Regions from separate parts of the Homo sapiens genome. Here region 1 is linked to region 2. The links are contacts of gene promoters, found by promoter capture Hi-C in human tissues and cell types (Jung and others, 2019). All regions are on one chromosome and are shown on one strand. The core of a region is centred on a gene start or on the middle of the fragment in contact, and the rest is flanking DNA. Distances in the headings are between cores, read along the strand shown.

Region 1 (7,049 bases), core at 1,608-4,107, 540 kb after region 2:
CCTGCGCTCCCGCTGGCCGCAGGAGCTGCTCCAGCTGCTAGGCAGTGTCAGCCCCAACTCTGTCAAGCCCGAGATGGTGGCCGCCTATCAGGGTGTCCTGGTGGAGCTGGCGCGGGCCAACCGGCTGTGCCGGGAGGCCATGAGGCTGCAGGCGGGCGAGGAGACGGCCAGCCACTACCGCATGGCTGCCTTGGAGCAGTGCCTGTCAGAGCCCTGAGGGGTGTCCACCGGGGACAGACCCAGGGGCGGGCAGAGAGGGAAGGAGGGAGGAGGCATCTTCCCTGAAGCCCCCAATCTGGCCCCCCCCTCCCCAGACTTCCTCCCCAAAACACCCCAGCTTTCTGGCTTTTCTGAGGGCAAGGGCATGGTGCCCACCCCTCAAGTGTAAGGAACTGCGTTCCGCCCCTCAGGCCCCCATGGGGGCAGGGATCGGCTTGGAAATCAACGTGGTTGTCCCCGCCAGGCCGGGGAAGGTTGGAGCAGCCCCCAGGGAGGGGGGCACTAGGTGTCATTGTGCCCGATGTCTGGCTCCCCTGCAGGAGGGAGGCTCCAGGGTAAGACAGGGCTGGCAGGAGCAGACTGCCTCAGCCCATGTGCCCTGCCGGCCAGGGCGTGGGCTCCCCTCGGCTGTGGTGCCTCCTCTGGCCCCCCAGGTCCACGTCCTTTAAATTGGCCCTTTGGCTCTTGCCCTTGGCTCCCTTGGGCAGACAGCAGGCTTAGGCCATTGATATCGCAGTTCTTCCTATCAGCTTCAGTGACCCAGGGTCTGAACTGCCTCCATCCTAGGGCAACCTGGGGCAGACAGGCCTGGTGGGGGGTGGGGAAACCTCCTTCCACCTGAGCTTGCTTGAAGGGACCCAGAGTCTTTGGGCCCAGATCTTTAAACCTTTGTGTCGTGTTGCAGCAGAGTGACGATGGGGGTTGGGGGGTTATTTATTTTGCCTGTCCTTATCCCTGCTTGGACACCTGAGCATCTGATTCCTGTCCCCCTGGTGCCATCTGGCCTGGCTGGAGCCAGGAACAGGAGGGACACTTCCCCAGAATCCGCATGTTTCCCCAGTGATTACACTCCACTGCCACCGTGGTGCCTGGCTTTAACTCCCACCCCTGCTATGACTCCTCTCTGCAGAGACGCGACTGGCGGCTCCAGCAGGGACTACCTTTCTTATAAACCCAGGGGGACCACACACACACACACACACACACACACACACACACACACACACACACACACTCTTGATCCCTTGCTTCCCTCCCCCAGTGCGTTCTGTGATCGCCAAGTTCAAAGCTGTGCACATGTGGACACTCAATAAATGTTCATTGGTGACGAGAAGCCTCCTGCGTGGTCTGCCCTGCACCTGCTCTCTCCCTTCCAGGCTCCATCAGTTCACAGCTACCAGGTGCTGAACACATGCCCTGCTAAACACATCATGAGACCTCATTCAGCCCTTCCAAGAATCCTCTGAAGGGTTCTGATTTTACAGACAAAGCAACTTTGGCATGGATAAGTGATTGGCTCAAGGTGTTGCCGCTAGTCAGTGCCAGAGCCAGGACTCCACACAGGCCATCCGACTCCCCAGCCCACATCTTTCACTTGTACAGCAGATTGCCAAACTCATGTTGATGTGGCCAGGCCTTGTGGGGGCTCTGGTGCTCTCAAGTACAGATGAAACACTGCACCCCCGCCCCCATGTCACTGGGTTGCTGCCAAGTGGCCCTGCCATATCCTCCCATTTTTAAAGAAGTCAGGAATCCTAATTTGTATGTGAAACCCAACTTTTGAATGTCAGTAACTATCTTTAATTAAATAACTACTGATCCAACAAAACATGCAGTCCAAATGTAGCTTTCAGGTTACCAGCTGTTGATCCTGTATGCCAAATGAGAAGCCAGAGGGCCTGCAAGCTTCAGCAGATGAGCCAAGTACCCACTATGGGTACTTCACCAGTCCTGAGCCAAAGCTGTGAGGTTGGAGCCAGACAGGCCCCAGACCCATACCCTCCGCAACCTCCTCCACCTAGGCCCTCAAACCTATAAGCACGTGCTGAGCATAGCCTATGTGCCCACCTGTGGTTGGCTATGCATAGACAGGAATATTTATTTATTGACTGGTTGTACTGAAAGCCATCTTCTTAGCATGGATTCTCTGGGGTAAATATGAAAAGACATAGAGGCTAGGTGTGGTGGCTAACGCCTGTAATCCCAATACTTTGGGAGTCTGAGGTGGGAGGATCACTTGAGCCCAGGAATTCAAGATCAGCCTGGGCAACACAGTGAGACTCCATCTCTACAAAAGAAAAACAATTAGCCGGGCATGGTGCCTCGTGCCTGTAGTCCCTGCTACTCCCGAGACTGAGGCGAGAGGTTCTCTTGAGCCCAGGGGTTTGAGGTTATAGTGAGCTATGATCACACCACTGCATTCCAGCCTGGAAGACAGGGTGAGATCCTGTCTCAAAAAAACAAAAACAAAAACAAAAAAACTGTAAGCAGTGGCTTCTATGTAGGTCCAAACACAGTGTGGCTGGAGCATGCGAGCCCCTCAGACTGGCCAAACGATTGCAGGAAAACTTACAGCAACTATGTGCTCTGAGACTTCAGGGTGAGGAGGGGCTTGCCAGGCAGACACGAAAAGGAACAGCAAGGTCTGAAGGCATGCAAGCTTGAGAACTACGAGTAGTTTCGCATTCCATGGTGTATAGAGTGTGAAGTGTGGAGTGGTGGAAGATGAGGTTGAACCAGCAGGCATGGACCAGATCCTACTGTGCTGTGCTCAGAAGCTTAAACGTGGAATCATGCTGAGAGATCAAATTGCAGTTTTGTTTTTTTTAGAAGCAGGGTCTCACTCTGTTGCCCAGCCTGATCTCGAAACTCATGGCCTCAAGTAATCCTTTTGCCTCAGCCTCCCAAAGTGCTGGGATTGTAGGCATGAGCCACCATCCCCGGCTAGACTGCAGATTTTTTAGCAGATTGAATGTGATCCCGTTTGCATTTTGGGAAGATGAGGCACTGCAAGAGGAATGGCTGAGCCAGGGAGCTCAGAGAGGAGATGCTAAGTCTGAACTAAGCCAGTGGCAATGAGGCTGGAGAAGATACAGGTAGGAGTTAATAGGACTTGGTGATTAACTGGAAGTGAAGAGGGGTAAAGAGAAGGGGAGTAGAACCAAGGATGACTCCCAGATTCCTGATCTGGGAGACTGAGTGGATAATGGGGCATTCACTGTCACTGGGAACACTGGGACAGAGACAGATTTGTGCATACCATACACAACTCAACTTGGTAAATGGCGAATTTGTGCTGCTCATGGTATATCCAAGGGGTAGTTGCTTTCTATGGTCTGGAGCTCAAGAAAAGTCTGGGCAAGTGACAGATTTGGGAGCTGTCAGTATAGAGGGTCCCTAAAGTCATGGGAGGGACTGAGATCATCTGGGGAAGTGAAAAGAGAAGAGAAAGGTCCCAAATAAAGTGACAGCCACCCATGGTCCCTGCTGTCAGGGTGCTCTCCCTCCCATAGTGGAGAAGTCAAACCCTGCAAAGCTTCCTAATACAAGGCAGACAGAGTTCTGTGCTTAAATGAGGTATGGTCAGAGAGTTCTGGCTTGCTCTTGGTATTTCAGCGGAGTGGGGAAAAGGGAGATCTGAGCTGCAGTTGTGAGATCTAACCACGAGATGGCGCCTTGGCATCTCCTTGTGCCAGATTTCCCCACCCTGCAAACACTCAGCCTGGCCTGGAGCAGGAGGTGATCAAAGGCTGGGAGGATGAGGGTGGCTGTGTCAACAATAAATGAGGCAGATCAGAGTTTTTTCTTAACATAAAATCCAAATGCAAGCTCACTTTTTGAAAAGAGAAGGAGCCTTGGAGAAAAGCAGTATGCCAAGTGTGCCAAATGGGAGTCCACGTATGTTTGAGCATGCAACTCTATGTCAATATATGTCCCATGTTCCTATGTGTACTTGTGTTTCCCATGAATGTCTCTGTGCAAGTTGTGTGCCCCATGTTCCCAAGGCTGTCTGCATGTGTACCCCACTGCACCCCAGGCCTCCACATGTGTGCATGTGTCCCAGGGAGCAGACAACCAGAAATCTCCACCTCCATGCCTCAGAGAGTGAGGAGTCCCTTGGCACTGAAAGAAGTAGTCCTGAGTCTGAAATCATGGGACTCTGATGTTTTAGGGAGACTCAAAGCAGCAGCAGACCATGGAGAACATCCCTCTCCCCAGTAGCCATAATCAAAATCACTCACTTATCAGATGATCTCTTCAGATTATACCTGGGTTCTATGTGTAGATACCCAGGATCATGTTCACATAGAGCCTTCCTAAAGGATCCCTTAATAGGCCAGTGGATTCATAACACCATCCATTGATGTGTTTATCATTTACAGTATTTAATAAGCATTCATTGAGTTCCTGCCATGCCCCAAGCACAGCGCTAGATACATTTTCTGTTTCTCCTTTAATCTTGTGAAGCAGTTCCTGAAAGAGGAAAAGTAAGTTAGTCACAACTGCAGAGTCTGGAATGCTCATTAGAATGTTTAAACTTTTTTTCCCCCGAAGATGGGTCATGGGGAGCCCTAGGAAAGTTTTCAGTAGGGAGGTAACATGGTCCAGTCACTCTTGTGGAAGTTGGAAATTGATCAGAAGAGATATGAATAAAGTCAGGAGACCAGTTAGAGAATTGTTGCAATGGCCTAGATAGTGGTTCTTAAACTTTAATGTGCCTCTGAGTCACCTTAAGGACTTATTAATAACACAGGTTGCTGGGCTCCACCCCCAGAGTTATTGACTCAGAAGGTCATGAGTGGGATCCAAGAATTGGGACTTCTAGCAAGCTCCCAGATATTGTTGGTGATGCTGGTCCAGGAACCACTCTTTGGCTGTGTTGCCCAGGCTGGTCTCAAACTCCTGGGCTCAAGGGACCACACTTTGAGAGCCACTGATCTATGAGTAAGAGTAAGGTAGTTTAAGGTGCTGAGACAGGGTGCCATGTGCCCTCTGGGATACCTGCCTCAATTCTCCACCACATACCTTCTGTGGGTGGATGTTTAAGGGTTAGAAATGGCAACACTCCATAAGGATTAGCTTGTGGGGGTTAAGGAAAGGACCTACGCTCTTCTGGGATGACTAGCAAGTTTTGAACTTGAAAAAGGGTGGTGTCATTTATGAAACTACAGAGCAAAGGAGAAGCAGGTTGGGGTTGGTGCTGGGGATAGAGGAGATGTTGAGTTCAGTGTTGGACTTGGAAAATTTCAGACAGCTGCAATGAGATGTCTGGAGAAAATACGCAGCTGGCAGCTGTGTCTATGGGTCTGGATCTCTCACTAGTGATTCAGGCCAGAGATAACACAGTTGGGAGATAACAGTAGACAGGTAGTCATTAAAGACTTGGGCCGGGCGTGGTGACTCATGCCTGTAATCCCAGCACTTTGGGAGGCTGAGGCGAGTGTTCACTTGAAGTCAGGAGTTCGAGATCAGCCTGGCTGACATGATGAAACCCTGTCTCTAGTAAAAATACAAAAGTTAGCCGGGCGTGGTGGTGGGCCCCTGTAATCCCAGTTACTCAGGAAACTGAGACATGAGAATCGCTTGAACCCGGGAGGTGGAGGTTGCAGTGAGCCGAGATTGTGCCACTGCACTCCAGCCCAAGCAACAGAGTGAGACTCTGTTATAAAAAAAAAAAAAAAAAAGACTTGAGAGGGGATGAGCTCACTCATGAAGAGTGCAGGAAGAAAAAGAAGCTTCTCTGCTCTGAGAAAGAATTACCGACATTAAGCATGTAGGTGAAAAGAGAAACAGAAAAGAAGACAGAAATGGTCGGAGTAGGACAATGAGGCAAAAAGGGGCTATCAAAGGTGTAGGAAGTAGATTGAGAAAACCCAAGGAAGCCACAGACAGGCAGCACATCCCGCCACTCTGGCCTTCCCAAGCTGCTGGAGAGAGCAGGGGCATCCCCGCAGCTGGGCACAGGCATCATCTCCTTTGCGGCTCCTAGACTTCTCCCAGAGGAGTTCATCAATTTCTATTCACGCACTGACACCTGTCCTGGAGCTTGACTTCTGATGCCCTGTGGCTGGGGTTGAGGGAGGGAGGAACAGGGCATTGCCACAGACTCCCTCATATATAGATACACACAAACACAATCCTGATCTCTGACCCATCTCGAGCAGGAAAGTTGCAAAGCTTCCCAATTCCGCTTCATCCTCTGGAACCTCGCTGGCGGTTCCAGACTTCAGAAAGTTCTTAATGATGAATCCTTGGCTTCTAGCCTCCTTCTTTCCCCACCACTCCCCAGGCTGAGATCATCCAGCCCTGAGCTCTGCACCTGCCATGTGCCTTCTGGGATACCCACTTGGAACCATATATTCCATGAGTTAATGGTGTCACTATCACCTCCTCTTCTATATCAATAATTTTACCTTAATCTTCTCATTTACTACTTCACTAAAAAGGGACCTAAAAAAACAACTAGTCTTCTCTGCCTTCCCCTACTTTTTTATTGGTGTTGTCGAAGTTGCAGAAACTGAGATCACAGAGGAAACGGGATGTAGCTAGGATCACACAGTTAGGCAGAGTCAGGACTAAATCCAAGCCCCTGAGTCTGAGGCAGTAGAGAATAGTGATTCTGAGCAGAGAGGGGCCAGGGGCAGATCACCCCAGCTCTGCCACTTAGCTGCTTGACCTTGGGCAAGCCATTTAACCTCTCCATGCCTCACCCCTCCCCTGAAAATGGGGATGATATGGGTATCTCTTTCATAGAGCTGCTGTGAGGGTTAAAGAACCCAATATTCGTGAAGCACTTTGCACAGAGGCTGGCACATTCTGTAATAAGTCTGCTGTGATTATTTCTACTTTGCCCTGGTCTGCACATCTTGCTTTTAAAAAACATCTTTCTTCTGCTTTCTTAATTCCTGTTCTCCTTAGCATTCCTCTCATTTGTCCATCTTTAATCCCTGTCTCTGCTTGTCAGGAGGGGAGGGTTGGGTTTGGGGAGAAAGAGAGAGTGACTACAGAGACTGGAACTTGCTTGACAGCCAGGGAGTGCCTGCCATGGT
Region 2 (6,607 bases), core at 2,703-5,202:
ACCTACCTGACATCCCTGTCTTCTTATGATACTGCCTGTGGCTGGGCATGGTGGCTTACAACCATAATCCCAGCACTTTGAGAAGCCGAGGTGGGCAGAGCACTTGAGGTCAGGAGTTTTGAGACCAATCTGGCCAACATGGCGAAACCCAGTCTCTAACAAAAATATAAAAAATTAGCCAGGCGTGGTGGCGCACACCTGTAATCCCAGCTACTCAGGAGGCTGAGGCAGGAGAATCGCTTGAACCTGGGAGGCGGAGGTTGCAGTGAGCCAAGATCGCGCCACTGCACTCCAGCCTGGGAGTGACAGAGCAAGACTCCATCTCAAAAAAAAAAAAGGAATGATACTGCCTGTGAGATGGTGTGAAAAATAAAATTGTTTTTTATTATTTTAAAATATAATTGCTTTGCTGATACAATAAAGTCAATAACTTTGAGTGTAAAGCGAAAGAACTGTCCCAGAAGAAAAATTCCTTGCCAAAACAACTAACTCATCTCTCCCATTGATTTTATTTTATTTTTTTTTGAGACGGAGTCTCACTCTGTCACCCAGGCTAGAGTGCAGTGGCGCAATCTTGGCTCACTGCAAGCTCCGCCTCCTGGGTTCACGCCATTCTCCTGCCTCAGCCTCCCAAGTAGCTGGGACTACAGGCGCCCACCACCACGCCCAGCTAATTTTTTGTATTTTTTGTAGAGACGGGGTTTCACCGTGTTAGCCAGGATGGTCTCGATCTCCTGACCTCGTGATCTGCCTGCCTTGGCCTCCCAAAGTGCTAGGATTACAGACGTGAGCCACTGTGCCCAGCCTCCACATTGATTTCCGTGCTCTCCATTCTGGGTCCCTATGGGGTAGCCAGAATGATCTTTCCAAACACAAATCTGTTTCATCTTACTTTCTCACTTAAAACCCTACAATTGGCCAGGTGTGGTGGCTCACGCCTGTAATCCTAGCACTTTGGGAGGCTGAGGTGGGTGGATCACCTGAGGTCAGGAGTTTGAAACCAGCCTAGCCAACATGGTGAAACCCCGTCTCTACTAAAAATACAAAAAATTAGCCAGGCGTGGTGGCAGGCGCCTATAATCCCAGCTACTGGGGAGGCTGAGGCAGGAGAATCACTTGAACCCGGGATGTGAAAGTTGCAGTGAGCCACCAAGATTACAACATTGCAGCAAAACTCCATCTCAAAACAAAAACAAAAAACCCTATAATGGCTATCTACTGCTCTTAGGATAAAAACCAAAATTTATAACAAGGTCTGCTACGTCCTACATAATCCAGCCTTAAACTATATATACAGCCTTATCATAGAGAAGCAGAATAGCACAAGTTCTGGAGTCTGACCACCTGGATTTGAATCCAGTCTTTGTCATTTACTACTAACTGTGATCTGTGGTAAACTATTTGGCTTTTTTGAGCTTTGGTTTCCTCATCTGTAAAATGGGGATAATAATATGGTGGTAAGAATGGTGCCTGACACACTCTTAAGCATATATAAATATTAAGTTAATAATGTCACATATGATTATGATATAATATATACTACATACTGATATACTAATGCCAGCTATTTTTATTGTTGTTGTTTTAATCATTATCATCATCACCATTTTCATACCTTTTCTGTTCCAGGCTCACTGTTCCTGCAGGTCTTAAAAAGAACCATGCATCTTTCCAACTCAGGGCTTTCCTATTCACAGTTCCCTCTGTCTGTAATACTCTTCTCCATACCCTTTGCCTAATCAATTCATTCTTCATAATTCAGCTTACACATCCTTCCCTTAGAGAGGCCTTCCCTAGCCATCCCCAGGCAGACCACAACCAAAACTAGGTCAGATTCCCCATTTTAGGCTTTTCTTCCAGAGTACTTGTCATAGTTTGTAATTATATATATTACTTGACCAATACTTTTGTAATCTCTGCCTCCTCTACTAACATATAAGCTCTACAAGGGAAGGGACTAAGCTGACTTTGCTCAATCCTGGATCCCCAGAGACTAGCACAGACCACAAATTCTTAACAGAATAAAGGAAAGTACTACCAGATACAAGAGAATTTTTTTTAAGTGACAAGTATGGAAAAATGGTAAATATATTACTTTCCTTCCACACACAAAAAAATCATGTAGTTATAGCTTTCATTCAAAGAGCAAAAAACCAGCCAGGAATGGTGGCTCATGCCTGTAATCCCAGAACTTTGGGAGGCCAAGGTGGGTGGATTGCTTGAGCTCAGGAGTTTGAGACCAGCCTGGGAAACATGGCCAAACCCCGTCTCTACCAAAAATACAAAAAAATAGTTGAGCATGTTGGTGTGTGCCCTGTGGTCCCAGCTACACAGGAGGCTGAGGTGGGAAGATCACTTGAGCCTGGGAGGTGGAGGCTGCAGTGAGCTAAGGAGATCGCACCACTGCACTACACCCTCAGCGACAGCGAGAGCCTGTCTCAGTTTGGGTTATTTTAAACTTACAAACCAGAAGCCGTTTAACTAAAATTTTTCAGTTGACCAGATGGAAAAGAAGGAATTTTTTTAAATTTTTAAATGAAGATGAAATGCTTACTTGAGCATTGTCTGGTTCTTCTTTAATTTTGTCCAGAAGCTCCTGCTGTGGTACCACTGCTTTGCCACATTCACCATCCAAAGGTTCTTTCATTCTAATTTTTTACCTCAAAGAGTGTCTCAGGCTCAAACGAATAGATTTCTTCTTGGTAATGGATAGTTGGACACCTAAAATACATACTCAGGCTTATTCTTTTTTCTTCAGGCTTATCTATATGAAAGAAAAACTTTGTGTTGAGTGCATGAGGCTTCACGGCTCGGCATTTGAAAAACAACTCTTCTGGGGCCACAACTAACTTTTTTCTTTCTTCCTGCTTTCTGTTCCTTCAGTAGCTACATAAGAAAACAGTTTTGGGGCAACAGCTCCCACTTCTCTAATATCTTTAAAGACACACAACACACTCTGGTTTTTTCCTATGTTGAAGGTTATTGAAGGGAATTAGACCAGCAGACCAAGACGTGGGAGGAAGTAATAAACTCTGAGAAGAACGGACTCAAGAAATAGTTTCTGACCCCATAAGAATCAGTACTTAGAGGCCCACGTCGGCTTTTATTTCTCAAAGAGGGGCACAACAACCTCCCGGCCCTGACCTATAACTCAACCTTCACTGGAAGCCTCCCTAAGGGCCCCATTTCTCGGCCTAACGCTAGATGTGAGCTCAAGATGCCATCCATCGCAGGCGAACAACAGGAACGCCCTTACTGAAAGTGAGTCACCTGCCTCTTTCAAGGTCTCCGTGTGAGGGGTGGGGGGCATCAAGCCCCTCAGAGCCCCGCTTCACAATCGCCTTCCTGTAGAAAAGAAACTCAATTGGCCATTCAGTAAATTCCCTTCCCCTAAAAGTCAAAGAACTAAACGGGACGAATTAAACCTAAAACAAAAAGCTCTTCAAAGTTGTCTTTATCCGAATAGTCCGGGATGGAAACGGACAACTGGTTGAAAAGCCTGTTCCAAAGAAGAAATGAGAACTTTTGCGCACTCGCCACAAAATATCTACGGGCGCTCATCCCTCCTCTGAGAACCGCACGCTTTCCGAAATTCTCCTTCCCACCAAGAATTCCCACTCCCATCATTGAGGACTAACGAGGCAATGTGGTCTCCGACTGAGAGCGGTGGACTAGCCAGTGAATGTCAACGCGTCCCTAAGGCGATATCCGCAGCCGCCCCAGCCGCGTAGCCCACCTGGCACCGCCCCCGCCGCAACGCCTCGTCACGTGGTGTGGCCTCCGCCCCGCCGTCCCGCCCACTACCACTGCGGCCGCACCCACCTTCTGTCGCCTCCCTGCTACCGGAGGAGCACTGGAATAGGAACCAAGTCCTCTGCATCTAGACAGGGATTATTTTCTCTTCTGGAATTCCGCCTGATCCATCCCAACGCAACGACCGGCCAACCACGCCTGCGCAGCCTTGGTCTCCGCCCTCTTTTCCCGTCAGGCTCCGGACCTGAGCTGAGTAGAACTTCCCAGCATTCCTCTTTCCTCAATTATGGTTCACTTCTTAAAGAGACCGAGGCTCAATAGTGAAAAGGTGGAGATGGCGTTAGAAGGCGCTGTAAGTGCTCTATAGCATTCTTTTTTTTTTTTTTTTTTTTTTTTTTTTTTTTTTTTTTTTTTGGAGACAGAGTATCACTGTGTTGCCCAGGCTGGGGTGCAGTGGCACAATCTCGGCTAACTGCAACCTCCGCCTCCTGGGTTGAAGCGATTCTCCTGCCTCAGCCTCCCGAGTAGCTGGGCTTACAGGCACGTGCCACCACACCTAGCTAATCTGTAGCATCCTTTAGTGCCCATTTCCTGAAAGGTGGCCTACTGAGAGAGCATGATATTAAATAATACTTGGCTTGCTGAGCACTTCACATGCACCATCCCACTTAATCCTCACCATTTAACCCTAAGAGGTATAATTTTTTAATCTCTTGAGATATAAATGAAAAAACTTGCTCAAAATTGAGATTTGGTTTTTTTAATTCAACATTGTTTCACAGATACGTGTATGATTTGTGACTGTTCATTCATTTTGACTGCTGTATAGTATTCTATTTTATGAATATGATACAATTTTAATCATCTACTACTGATGGACATTTGAGTTGTTTCCAATTTGTGGCTATTAGGAATAATGCTTCTGTGAACATTCTTGTCATTGGTGATGTTAAAAGACAAAATTACAACAAATTTAATTTAAATATCTCAATTAGCTTTATTTGTGATTCTAGAATCTGGCAGCACTTCATTCCATAAAATAGAACAAGTGTTCCAATGAGCTGAGCAGAAGAGGTAGGTTTTATAGACAGAGAAGGGCTGGAGAAAGCAGAAGTAAAGAACAAAAAACAGATTGGTTCATTTCAAAGTAACTTTCCAAAAAATAAATAAATAAGTTAATTTCCTTGTAAAGCAGAACCAAGAAACAAAACAATAGAGAAATAACTGATTGGTTAACATCAGGTAACTTCAGTTTATCTTTTTTTGGTAACGATTAAAGCAGAAGAAATTTCATTATTATGCTAATTGAAACTGGCACTCAGGGGAAATTAGACTCTTATTATCTCTTTTTCCTGACTTTTCAGAACTTCAAATAACAACGTAGTTTCCATTTGATGACATGGAACCTCAGTGTGAGTGACTCCATTTTGATTTTTAGTCTGGTTCATTGAGACCTACTGCAGGAGCTTAGCCCGAAACAATGGCCTACAAGTTTTATTTAACAGTGATACATATGCACACATTTCTGTTGGGTTCATACCTAAAAGTGAAATTGCTTGTTATGTATATGTAAAATTTAGGTAGATAATCTCAGGCAATTTTAGAAAATGGTGGTTTCAGTTTATACTCCCTTCAGCCATGTATGAGAGTTTCAGTTTCCCAACATCCTTGCCAATAATTACTGCTGCATATCTTTTTAATTATAACCATTCTGATGGGGGCATAGTGGTATCTCACTGTGGTTTTAATTTGCATTTCCCAGATTATTAATGAGGATGAGCCCATTTTCTTGTTCCTTGGGTATCTGGATATCCCCCATAAGTGCCTGTTCAAGTCTCTTGCTCATTTTTGTATTGGATTGACATTTTCTTATGGGCATATATTTTAGATATGAATCCTGCTATGGTTTGAATGTATGTGTCCCTTCAAAATTCATATATTGGAACTTAAACATTAAGGCGATGGTATAAGAAGTGGAGCCTTTGGGAGGGGTTAGGCTATGAGGACTCCATCCTCATGAATGGGATTCATGCCCTTACAAAAGAGGGCATTCATGCCCTTCACAAAGATTCATTCCTTTTGCCCTTTTAACCCCTCACTGTATGATAACAATGTTCCTCCCAGCAAGAGGACAACAACAAAGTTTCATCTTGGAATTAGAGAGTAATTCCAAGACAACAAATCTGCCAGTGCCTTGATCTTGGACTTGCCAACCTCCAGAACTGTGAGAAATAAATTTCTACTATTTATAAATTACACAGTCTGTGGCATTTTCTTTTGGCAATCAGGAATACACTAAGATAAGTCTTTTTTGAATATACACTAGCCCCCCTCATCCACGGTTTTGCTTTCTGAAGTCGTAGTTACCCACACTCAACCACGGTCTGAAAATATTAAATGGAAAATTCCAGTAACAAATAATTCATAAGTTTTAAACAACTTTCATTAAAGTCTATTGTTATAATTGTTCTATTGTTAGTTGTTAGTCTCTTTCTGTGCCTGATTTATAAATTAAACTTTATCATAGGTATGTATGTATAGGAAAAAACATAGCATATATAGGGTTTGATACTACTGGAGGTTTCAGGCATCTGTGGAACATCTTCGAACATATCCTCATGGATAAGGGAGGGACTACTGTATATATTGCAAATATCTTCTCCCACTCGGTAGCTTGCCTTTTCACTCTGTTATTGGTGTCTTTTGATGAACTTAAAAGACCTTTGTGGCCGGGTACAGTGGCTCATGCCTATAATAGCAGCACTTTGGGAGGCTGAGGCGGGCGGAACTCTTGAGGCCAGGGGTTTGAGACCAGCCTGGCCAACATGAGGAAACCCTGTCTCTACTAAAAATA

The links. The method cuts DNA at HindIII sites, captures the fragments that hold promoters and counts their contacts. A contact is called where the count stands out against the background at its distance.
Region 1: a fragment that was not itself captured here is called in contact with the fragment with the promoter of ZMYM6 in region 2 in 2 of the 25 tissues and cell types used here (aorta and lymphoblastoid cells).

Annotation. Positions count from the first base shown.
Region 1 is chr1:35,565,447-35,572,495 of GRCh38, forward strand. NCDN (neurochondrin) reads left to right here. Exons shown (of 7, transcript NM_014284.3): 7 at 1-1,333. The coding sequence ends at 217. It overlaps TFAP2E-AS1 (TFAP2E antisense RNA 1), which reads right to left. Exons shown (of 3, transcript NR_183387.1): 3 at 4,365-4,473. Among named protein-coding and RNA genes, the nearest start is that of TFAP2E, 4.3 kb to the right of the region's middle. RefSeq lists a silencer at 4,771-4,872. The HindIII fragment of the contact is 6,197 bases long and covers 1-5,956 here.
Region 2 is chr1:35,027,993-35,034,599 of GRCh38, forward strand. It overlaps ZMYM6 (zinc finger MYM-type containing 6), which reads right to left and starts at 3,953. Exons shown (of 16, transcript NM_007167.4): 1 at 3,823-3,953; 2 at 2,555-2,721. The coding sequence starts at 2,647. LOC124903990 (a long non-coding RNA gene) reads left to right here and starts at 4,728. Exons shown (of 2, transcript XR_007065739.1): 1 at 4,728-5,165. RefSeq lists enhancers at 3,255-3,781, 3,782-4,306, 3,963-4,142 and a silencer at 3,673-3,792. The HindIII fragment of the contact is 33,615 bases long and covers 1-6,607 here.